Regions from separate parts of the Homo sapiens genome. Here region 1 is linked to region 2. The links are contacts of gene promoters, found by promoter capture Hi-C in blood cells and fetal thymus (Javierre and others, 2016). All regions are on one chromosome and are shown on one strand. Each heading gives the region's core, a stretch centred on a gene start or on the middle of the fragment in contact. The rest is flanking DNA. Distances are from core to core; before and after follow the strand shown. Region 1 holds the start of MROH6 (maestro heat like repeat family member 6). Region 2 holds the start of FAM83H (family with sequence similarity 83 member H).

Region 1 (3,525 bases), core at 209-2,708, 160 kb after region 2:
AGAATGGGGAAGAAGTTGAAGCTCCAGGAGATGACTCAGCCCCAGACACCTGGCCAGAGTGGCACTGCACGTGGCTGTGCTGGGCTGGCCCTGCCTCTGCACCAGCAAGTTCCTGATCTCAGGGTTCCGCCAGTTTGGGCAACGTGAGCTTCAAGAGGAACTGCTTGGGGGAGAGGTTCTAGGCTTGGCAGGAAGTGGAGGCTGGGGGCCTGGGCCTCTCTTGTCGAAGCAGCCTGAGGTGGCACAGACAGGCAAGGGTGTGGGGGGAATGCTGACCGCCTGGGGCACTTCCGTCTGCCCAGGCATTCCACCAGACCAGCTCACCTGGCTCCCCGGGCTTCAGGGTGGGCAGCACCACTGTGTGGTTGGCTGAGGGTGGAGGGTGGGGACTTGGAGCAGAGGCCCAGTCCAGCCAGCCCCGGGGAGTACGAGCTAGGAGAGAGATACAGACTCACACACATTGGACAGAACACACCACACCCCAGGCACCCCCAGGGCACCCGCGCACTCCGAGGGGCCCAGCCAGAGTGGCTGTATTCTTCCGTTCTTGCACTGCTGTAAAGAAATACCTGAGACTGGGTAATTTCTAAGGAAGAGAGGTTTAATTGGCCTGTGGTTCTGCAGGTACAGGAAGCATGGCTGGGGAGGCTTCAGGAAACTTACCATCTTGGTGGAAGCGGAAGCGGGCAGGTCTTACATGGCCGGAGGAAGGGGTGGGGCGGTGCCACGCACTTCCAGACAACCAGATCTTGAGAAGTCTTATCATGGGAACAGCACCAAAGGGGGAAGTTGCCCCCAGGATCCAATCACTTCCCACCAGGCCCCACCTCCAGCACTGGGGATTACGTTTCAACATGAGATTTGGCCAAGGACCCAGGACCCAGAGGGGCCTGCACAAGCTCTGGAGGGGCCACCGCTCCTCTGGTGTCTTCACTGCCCCCTCCACACCTCCGGGCTGCCCCAAGCTCACCCAGTCATGCCTGTTGCAAGGTGTCTGACAGAGCCAGCGTGCAGGGGGCGGAGCCAGCGTGCAGGGGGCGGGGCCAGCCCCTAGCCCCAGGCCCAGTGGGGAGCTGACTGCTGCTTGGGGGCTGAATCAGGCCTCGACTCAGGGTGGGGCCCAGACTCCTGGACCCTGCGAGGACCTCCTCAGAGCTGTCCACAACTGCCCTGAGCTCCCTGGTCAACAGGGGCTGGTAGTCAGGGTGGGGGCCCTTCTCCCCCTTTCTTCGTGGATCTGCCAGCTCTTGGGGATCCTGTTCTCAGGGCCCTGGTGGGTAGAGCCACACCACAGGCACTCAGGCTGCAGGTGGCCACTCCCCTCCAGCAGCCCAGGCAGGAGGGCCCCTCAAAGGCCCATTGTAGGCACGTCCGTGTGGCTCCCCAGCCCCCGCAAGCTCACGCTAGCGCACGCCACCACGCCCGTCCGTGGTCCCGCCCGGGGCGGCTTCTAGGTCAGTCCTGGGCACAACTTCGCAGGAGGAGCAGCGGCAGGTGCTGCAGGCAAGGGCCGCCATGGCTGGGGGTGTGTGGGGCCGGAGCCGGGCCCGGGAGGCTCCCGTGGGGGCTCTAACCCTGACAGCACTGACTGAAGGAATCCGGGCCAGGCAGGGGCAGCCCCAGGGACCCCCTTCCGCAGGCCCTCAGCCCAAGTCCTGGGAGGTCAAACCTGAGGCTGAGCCACAGACCCAGGCACTCACCGCCCCCTCTGAGGCAGAGCCTGGACGTGGGGCCACCGTCCCTGAAGCTGGCAGCGAGCCCTGCTCCCTCAACAGTGCCCTGGAACCAGCCCCTGAGGGGCCCCACCAGGTGACGGGGGAGGGAAGGGATGTTGTGCGAACCGGCCTGGGGGTCCTGTGGATGGTAGGTGGAAGGCGGGGTGGCAGGGGGGCGGTGCTGGCCCCGGGGGAGGTCAGCGTGAAACAGGCTGGTGAGCAACAGAGGAGCAAGGGATTTTGTAGGAAGCCAGGTGGGAGGCCGAGGGACCAGGAGGAGAGCTAGGAGAGGTTTGGGCACTTCAGACGCCCCACCCATCCTGCCCTAGGTTCCCCAGAGTTCCTGGGAGGAGGGAGTTCTTGCCGACCTCGCGTTGTACACGGCTGCCTGCCTGGAGGAGGCTGGCTTTGCAGGGACCCAGGCGACAGTGCTCACCCTGTCCTCAGCCCTGGAGGCCCGGGGCGAGCGGTTGGAGGACCAGGTCAGCCTTCACCCACTTCATGCCCTACAGAATCCTGCCGGTTCGGGCACCAAGGTGGTGGGAGGGGCCTGGAGAGCGCAGCCTGACCCTGCCATCTTCAGGCTGCTCCTGCCAGGCGGGATCAGGGTGGGGGTGGAGGTGGGGTGCAGGCCAGAGGGGAATGGACGGTGGAGGAGGCCTGACTGCTGAAGTCTGCCCCCTTCCCCACCAGGTGCATGCTCTGGTGCGTGGGCTGCTGGCGCAGGTGCCCAGCCTAGCGGAGGGGAGGCCCTGGAGGGCGGCCCTGCGAGTGCTGAGCGCACTGGCCCTGGAGCATGCGCGGGACGTGGTGTGTGCGCTGCTACCCCGCTCTCTGCCCGCCGATCGGTAACCCAACCGTCCTGGCCCTGCGGTCCCCACGCGGCTTCCTTCCCTCTTCCCGCTTGGCGGTGGAGTCTGGCCCCAGAAGAGGGAGCTGAAAAGGGGCAGGGCCTCCTTATTCCAGCCCCGCGATGACTCATGCCCCGTATCCATTCCCGCTCCCCTCATTTTTAGCTCCGCAAACTCCCCCCACACTCCTGCCACAGAGTTTCTGATGCTGGGCTCCTCTCTTGGAGCCACCTTCTATCTTCGGGTGGCCTCCCCTGGAGACCGTCCTGGGGTTGGCTCCGGAGTGGGGTGAATGAGGCTGGGGGGCTAACGTGCCTGGACACCCCTGGCTCTTTGGTTAATTGGCCCCAGAAGTTATCTTTGGTTTTATTCTCTGTGGCAATTTTTTTCTTTTTAATAATGCCAGGTTTGTTTCACTGTCGCTGACCCAACGGGACTCCCAGTGGGTCCCCACCCTGCAGCTCAGCTTGAGATAGGCTATGTTGTGGTCTGCACAATTAACCCTTCATTTGTTTCTCTGAGATTTGGGGATGGGGGGAGATGGGAGGGGTTTCCTGCCCCTCCCCTGCTGGAGTCCTACTGGCTGCCTCCACCCTGGCTGGGGACTCCCTACATTCCCTGGACACCCACCCATCTCTTGTCTCACACCAGCCCCCTCCAAACCCTCAGGGTAGCAGCCGAGCTCTGGCGCAGCCTAAGCCGTAACCAGCGTGTAAATGGGCAGGTGCTGGTGCAACTGCTGTGGGCGCTGAAGGGTGCTTCGGGGCCGGAGCCCCAGGCACTGGCGGTAGGTGGCTCCAGCCATTACCAGGGGGTGGGGGCGGGGGTGGGGGGTGGCGAGGAGCGGGGAGGATGGGCATAGGGAGTTTGCACCTAGGTAACTGCTCCTGGAATGTCCCATGCGTGTCTGAGGCTGTCCCCATCCTGTTGACAGCACGCCTGTCCCTCTGCTGCCCAGT
Region 2 (6,575 bases), core at 2,760-5,259:
CAGCAGCTACAGGAGGAGCAGCTGTGGCTGCAGCAGCTACAGGAGGAGCAGGCCTGGGTACACGTGGAGGGGCTGCAGCTGGCCGTGGCCCTGGAGCAGCTCCGGAGTGAGGGCTTCGAAGCACTGCAGACCCAAGGCCAGGTAAGGCCTGGATGGGGTGGCGGGAGGGGTCCCGGACTGTTGTGTTGGTGCGGTGGCCACTGCAGCAACCTAGGGATGCCTGTGGAGGCCCAGGAAGCCAGGCTGGATGCAGGGTATCTGTGGGCCCATCTTCACATCTGCCAAGTGAAGCCGGTGCCCGCCACACAGGGCACTGCAAGACCAAGGGACAGCAAGCCTGCCCAGGCTGGCCCAATGCTTGGTGGAAATGGGCACTGAGGGCAGATACTTGTTCAGGGACAGAGGTGTCCCTGCAGCAGACCCAGGCATGCTGGGCCAGAGCCGTCCAGGGCAGTGTATGGGCTGCGGTGCAGGGCGAAGGCCTGGGTGTGCAGTCAGTAGGTAGCAGAACTGAAGAGCACAGCCCCCACCCCTGCAACCCAGTTTCCTGGCTGCCTTGCTGGTCCACCTGCCCTGCCCCCCGTTTATTGGAGTGCAGTGTACTCAGGGCTAGAGATTGCGGAAGCAGCATGCGGCACCTGTGCCCATTATCCTCATTCCAGGAGGGCGGCTGGCCTCAGACGCAGCTGGGGCTATTTTGGGGAACTAGGATCTAACCCCAGCCTGGCGTGGAGGAGCGGTCACCATCATCCCACCTGCTCCTGTGAATCTGGGAGCTCTCTGGCAACCAGGGGTGTTAGGCCAGGCCCACTCTAAGCAGAGGGGCAGTCTGGGGAGCAGGATGGGGTGCTCTCTTAGCAAGCACAGACCCCAGTGCAGGCCTGGGTGCTGAAGGACCCCAGATTTGCAACCTGGAATGTGTTCACAGCCAGCATAGAGAATAAATGGGAGCTGGAGCAAGGGAGTGACAACAGTGAAGGCGGGGCTGGGGTGGGGGAGGGTACTGGGGGAAGTCTCCTTCCTGACCCACAGGAAAACCCAGCCCAGGTGAGCTGTCACCATCCAACCTGGAAGTGACTATGGAGAAGGTGACTGGGAGCAAAGCCGCAGGCAGAGGGCAGCACAGGATGGCCCAGATGGAGCAGAGAGTCAGAGAACACATGCTTAGACTGAGAATCCCCAACTTGGACTCAAACCCTCCTGTTTCAAAACCCATTTTTGGCCATCTAGGCGCCTCCCACTGGCTCCTGCCCCCTTCCCACCTCCATGTGTTCCAAAGCTGGGCTTCTCTGAGTGCTACCCCTAGGCCCCCACCCCAACCCCAGGGGTATAAGATTCAGGCTTGGCCGGGCATGTGGCTCAAGCCTGTAATCCCAGCACTTTGAGAGGCCGAGGCGGGCGGATCACCTGAGGTCAGGAATTCAAGACCAGCCTGGTCAATGTGGCGAAACCCCGTCTCTACTAAAACAAAAATACAAAAATCAGCAGGGCGTGGTGGCGCACGTCCATAATCCCAGCTACTCGGGAGGCTGAAGCACAAGACTCACTTGGACCCAGGAGGCGGAGGTTGCAGTGAGGAGGGATTGCGCCATTGCACTCGACTGGGTGACAAGAGCGAGACTCCGTCTCAAAAAAAAAAAAAAAAATAGATTCAGGCTCAAGGTCTGAGATGAATGAATGGGCTCTGAACCCTCAGTCAATCACACCTAATCCCAACTCAGAGGTCCCCTAAAAGCCACTCTTGGAAGAAGGGCTCTCCTCAGAGGGGGTGTCTCTCGGTGGCTACATAGAAGGTCTCACAGGTCAGTGTCTGGGTGACAGTGCTCTGGAGGTCAGAGGGTGCACTTACCAGCAGCAGCTCTTGTCTTGGGCCCAGGGTGGAGCGTCTGCCACTTCCCAGCTGCAGCTTTGGGTCTCCCCTTCTTACTGTCCATTCTCCTGGGGGGTGGGTAGGGAAGGACCAGGGAGAGGGTGCTCAGAGTGGCAGAGGGCAGGGGCAGTGGCAGTGGGGAACAGGGCACACCATGGGCGCCTGAGTGGATGACAGCAGGAACATGGGCTCCCCTGAGGCTTCCCAGCTGGTGTCCTGTCTGCCTGCCCGCCCCGGGTGTGTGCCCAGAAGCTTGAGCCGGGATGCCTGGCAAGAGCACTTGGCCACCTCCCGTCCCCCTGGCCGTGGCTTGCCTGCCCCTCCGCCCCAGGCTCAGCCCATCCTGCCGGGCGCAGGATCTGGAGTCTAGCACTCTTCTCCCTGCCCCAAGCTGCTGGGTTGCCAGTGGGCCGGTCTTTGTTCTCACCGTAATCATGAGCATGGCCCTCTCTGCTGAAGCCTCCATGCCTCTCCACTGCCCTGGGAAGCCAGCCCACCCCTGAGCCTGCTCCCCAGCCCACCCAAGGCACTCACCCCTCCACACCCTCAGACCTTATGTGGTCCCGGCTCTGGCAGATGGTGGTGTCAGGCCCTGGAGCAACACCCCTCTCCCTAGTCCACACAGCTGACCCCCAAGTTCATTTCCCTGGGAGGCTCCTCCTGCCTGCCCCAGCCTGTCCGGGTCCTCCCCGGTGCCCCATGCCCCTCACCCGCTGCAGCACAGTTGCCTGGGCACTGGTCTGACCCCCCACCCATGTTTCCAGCATGCTGGTACCAGTGGGGTGGCACTGAGTGTTTGGGGAAAGAACAAATGAAACTGGGACTGACCCTGAAAACAGAAAATAGGATCACATGGCAAGAGGAACAAAGAGAAAGGCGACTGATGACCATCAGAAAGGGTTGAGGCAGGGCCAGTCCTTGGGGTGGGAGTGGCAGGGGCGAGGGGTGGTGGTTTGGACAGATGATCCAGTGTAGGGCAGGGCCTAAGAGGGGGAGGGGCCCTAAGTGAGGGCCTGAGGGGGACCTGGGGGACTGGAGCACCCAGGGGCAGCTCGGGGTGGTGTGTGGGGGTTGCTGTGTACATGGGGGGGCGTCTGGTATGAGGCTTGGTGTGCACACTGGGTCCCTTGTCCGTTGGGGCTTGGTTTTTGCAGAGTCCCTGTGTGTACACAGGGTTCCGTATGTGAGGGAGGTCCCCTGTGCTCTCAGAGTCAGTGTGAATATGGCATCCCCTGTTTGTGTGTGGGGTTGGTGTCTGAGAAATCTCATATGCAGGTGGGGTTCCCTAGGTGTGCGGATGTCAGCGTGTTCGTGGGTGACTGGCATGGGCAGGACTCGGTGTGCTTGTGGCTTCTGTCTTCCTGAGGAGTCTCCTGTGCTTGGGGGTTGGTGTACATGAGGCACAGGTCATTCGGGGTCCGCATGTGCATGGGGGGGTCACTGCGGCAGAGTCCCCTACAAGTGTGGGCATCGGTGTGAGGGGGTGAGGGAGAAAGATGGGGGACCCCAGGTACTTGTGGGCATCAGTGTGTGTGGTGGGGGTTGGGGTCTGGGGGTCCTCTGTGTGGGCGGGGTCCTCGTCTACGTGTGGGGCGCTGGTGCGGTGGGAGACCGGTGTGTGGTGAGGGGATCCCCTGTGCTCTCGGGGCTCCCAGACCCGGCCCCGCCCGGGGCTCGACGCCGCCCCACCGTCCTCACCTGTCGCACCTGCCTCCCCCAACTCGGCGAGGAGGCCAGAGCTCCGCCCCTGGCGTCGGGCTCGCTCGTTTCCTAGCGACTGAGCCGGAACTTCCGAGTCACCCCGACTTCCGGGGCGAGGGTCAGGGGTCAGGCTGGGAACTTTGAGCCTTGGGTCAACAGTTGGGCTCCCGGGGGTCGGGGTCTTTGAAGTGCGGGCCTCACGGTCTCCGGCGGCGCTGGGCCGGGGTCTCCGGGCGCGCGGCCGCAGGGCACGGGCGGGTCGGGGCGCGGGCCGGGGGCGCGGGCTGGGGCTGGCGGCGGGCGCGGGGCGCAGGAATGCGGGCGCGCCGCGGGTGGGGCTGCCCCGCCCCCAGGTGCTGCCCGGGCAGGCAGGAGGCAGGAGCGACGGGCGGGGCGGGGGCGGGCGCGTGAATCAGGCCGGGCGGGCCGCGGCAGGGAGTGGCTGCCGGACCGACCGGACCGCGAGGCCGCTGGGCGGCGGTCGGCTCCTGCTGCCCCTGTGCCGAGACCCCGCGCACCTGGCCAGGTAGGGCCCCCCTCCCCCGGCCCGAGCGGGGCGGGGCGAGGCGGGGGGCGGGCGCCCCTTGGCGCGGTCCCACTTGGGCTACCCTTGCGCCCACACCTGGGCCGGGGCCGCGCGACCCAGAGAGGGGCGGTGGGAGTGGAGCGCGGCCGCGTGCGCGGGGCCGGGGTGGCGGGGCTGCTCGGACAGGGGGCGCCGCTGTGCGGATATGGACGCGAGCGCCCCCGCACGACGCCGGCCCGAAAAGAGCCGAGGGGGAAGGGGCCCGGGATCCGGGTCGAGCCTGCCCGGCCGTCCCGACTCGCTCCCGCCCTCGCGGCCTAGCTGGAGTCTGGGTGCTGGGCACGGCCTGGACCCTTCCCTGGGGACATCCGCCCGGGCCGCCGTGGACTGGGGTGGCCAGGGTGCGGCCTGGATCCCCGCGTGGCGAGCAGGGCGAGTGATGGGAGTGCTGCCCCTCGCGCCCACGTTCCTGGGCTGGGGTGGGCGGATAGGGCACCCAGCGGCCGCAGCCGCGAGCTCGTAGGGTGCACTGACCCCGTTGGGGGCTGGGGTGCCCACTCCGCAAGTTATCACTGAGCGACTTCCGGTCTGTGAGCCCCGTCCTCCGCACCCCACCTTTCCGCCGCCTAGAGCCTCCGCGCCCTCCTGCGCCCATCGGAACTTGGCACAGGTTCACCCCACTTTGTGTAGGAACTCCAGATCCTTCCATGGGGTCCTCCTTCCAGATACTCAGGAACCCCACTTCCTGCCAGGGTGGAGAGGATGGGGTCCTTGAAGGCCAGCTGAGGGCCCTGACTTCGAGTCAGAGGTCAGGGGTCAGCAAGCAGAAGAGTGGATTCGTGCTGAGTCATTGCCCATGGGTGGGTTCCGCGCCCTCCCTCCCTTGGGCAGACGTTTGGTAGGCAAATGTGTGGGCATGCAGGCCACTGGGGTGCTCCATCTTGGGCTCGGGAGTGGCTGCAGCCCCGTCCATAGCCCAGGAGACACGTACCCATGAAAGGAGACGACGTGAGGAATGAAGCAGTTGGAGGTCTGGGCATCACCCTGTGAGGACGAGGCATGTCTGCTGGGAGGGCTCCTGGCCACGGGGGCTTCCACTGTCTGGATGGTCCCTGCCCCCATTACACACAGCCTGGAGCCTGGACACTGAAATCCAAAGGGACAGTGGGGGTCCTTTCTAGAGTGTCCCCCCAGTGTCGGGAAGTACCCTCAAACAACATCAGCAGGGTTGTTCCCCCTGCCCTGTATGGTCAGACACCGCCCCTACAGACAGGCTGGCAATGGTGAGTGGGCTCCTCGGCCCAGCCAGACAGGCCTACACCTCACCCCCATGTGGTTGGCCTCGATCTGCCCCTGGCACAACCAGAGCGGTGTGCCCTAACCAGCCCCATATGTCAACCATGAGGACGGTGCCCCAACAAAGAAATGTTGGGACAGCTTCTCCCAAGCCGGTTGGCATCTAGGGCTGTTGAGTGGCACCAGGTATTTCCCATGTCTCAACTCCATGTCACCCCCAGGGGCACCAGGCAGGACGGCTGCCTCCTGACCCCAACATTCTCAGCCAAGTGGCTCCGGCTAGCACCCATGTAGTCCAGCTGGCCGGCATCCATCCTGTCAGCGCCCAGGGGCACGCTCCTCTGGGCACCTTCCTAGCCAGGGCCAACATTCAGGAACCTGTGTGCTAGGCGGGGACAGGTGTCCTGCCTCCCTCCCCAACCCGAGGAGCAGTGGGATGGACTGAGCAGTCCCTAGGGCTCTCCTTCCAGGGAGAGGTACCCAGGTAGCTCAGTGACCCTGTGTGCGTGGGCCCTGGGCGCTCCCCATCTGACACCTTTCTGGAGAGGCCAGGCCCCCGCAGGGACCCTTTGGAGAACAGAGTGGGCTGTGGGGCAGCCAAGCATGGATGGTGGTGGCGAGCCCAGGACCTGGAAAGGTCCCTGCTGCCCTGGATGGGGGCTGGTGGGGACAGGACTCTGAGCAAGTGGAGAGCCAGATTTGGGCGATGTGGAGTGCAGGCCCTGCAGGGCCCTGTGGGCACCAAGGGGCTGTGGCCCAGGGAGGTTTTATCTGAGAGGGACAGTGACAAGAAAGAGGTCAAAGGTAGGCCAAGGGAAGGAGGGGGTGCTGGGAGACAGGGACGGAGTCTAGGGATCAGTGTTCCAGGACTGGGCGGTCATAGAATGGGCTGTGGGAGCCCAATTGTGAAACCCTGAGGATGGGGAGGAGGTGTGGCCCGGGACTATGTGTGGGGCTTAAGGTTGCCATTCCAGGAGGAGGGTAGTCACAGCCCTGTTTGCTGCGCTCACCTTGGGCTAGGCGTGGTGTCATGTGGACCCTCAGCTGTGTTGTGCAGTAGAGGTAGGCCAGAGAGGTGCAGTGACCTACCCACAGTCTCCCAGGCAGTCAGAGACGGACACATGGGCAGCATGGGCGGCACCAGCTTGTCCAGTAGGCACAGTGCCAGGGGTCCGTGAATGT

The links. Contacts are between HindIII fragments. The CHiCAGO score rates a contact against its expected background, and 5 or more counts as called.
Region 1: the fragment with the promoter of MROH6 here is called in contact with the fragment with the promoter of FAM83H in region 2 in 1 of 17 cell types (erythroblasts); the score reaches 6.4 in erythroblasts.

The regions. Positions count from the first base shown.
Region 1 is chr8:143,570,705-143,574,229 of GRCh38, reverse strand. MROH6 (maestro heat like repeat family member 6) reads left to right here and starts at 1,458. Exons shown (of 14, transcript NM_001100878.2): 1 at 1,458-1,809; 2 at 2,045-2,197; 3 at 2,409-2,563; 4 at 3,236-3,353. The coding sequence starts at 1,516. It also overlaps a transcript of NAPRT not described here. RefSeq lists an enhancer at 2,100-2,949. The HindIII fragment of the contact is 15,945 bases long and covers 1-3,525 here.
Region 2 is chr8:143,731,213-143,737,787 of GRCh38, reverse strand. It overlaps FAM83H (family with sequence similarity 83 member H), which reads left to right and starts at 4,009. Exons shown (of 5, transcript NM_198488.5): 1 at 4,009-4,097. It overlaps IQANK1 (IQ motif and ankyrin repeat containing 1), which reads right to left and starts at 3,649. Exons shown (of 14, transcript NM_001381874.1): 1 at 3,569-3,649; 2 at 1,850-1,938. The coding sequence starts at 1,934. It overlaps MIR4664 (microRNA 4664), which reads left to right and starts at 4,635; the gene lies at 4,635-4,705. RefSeq lists enhancers at 1-23, 4,775-5,069 and a silencer at 4,946-5,156. The HindIII fragment of the contact is 7,630 bases long and covers 2,125-6,575 here.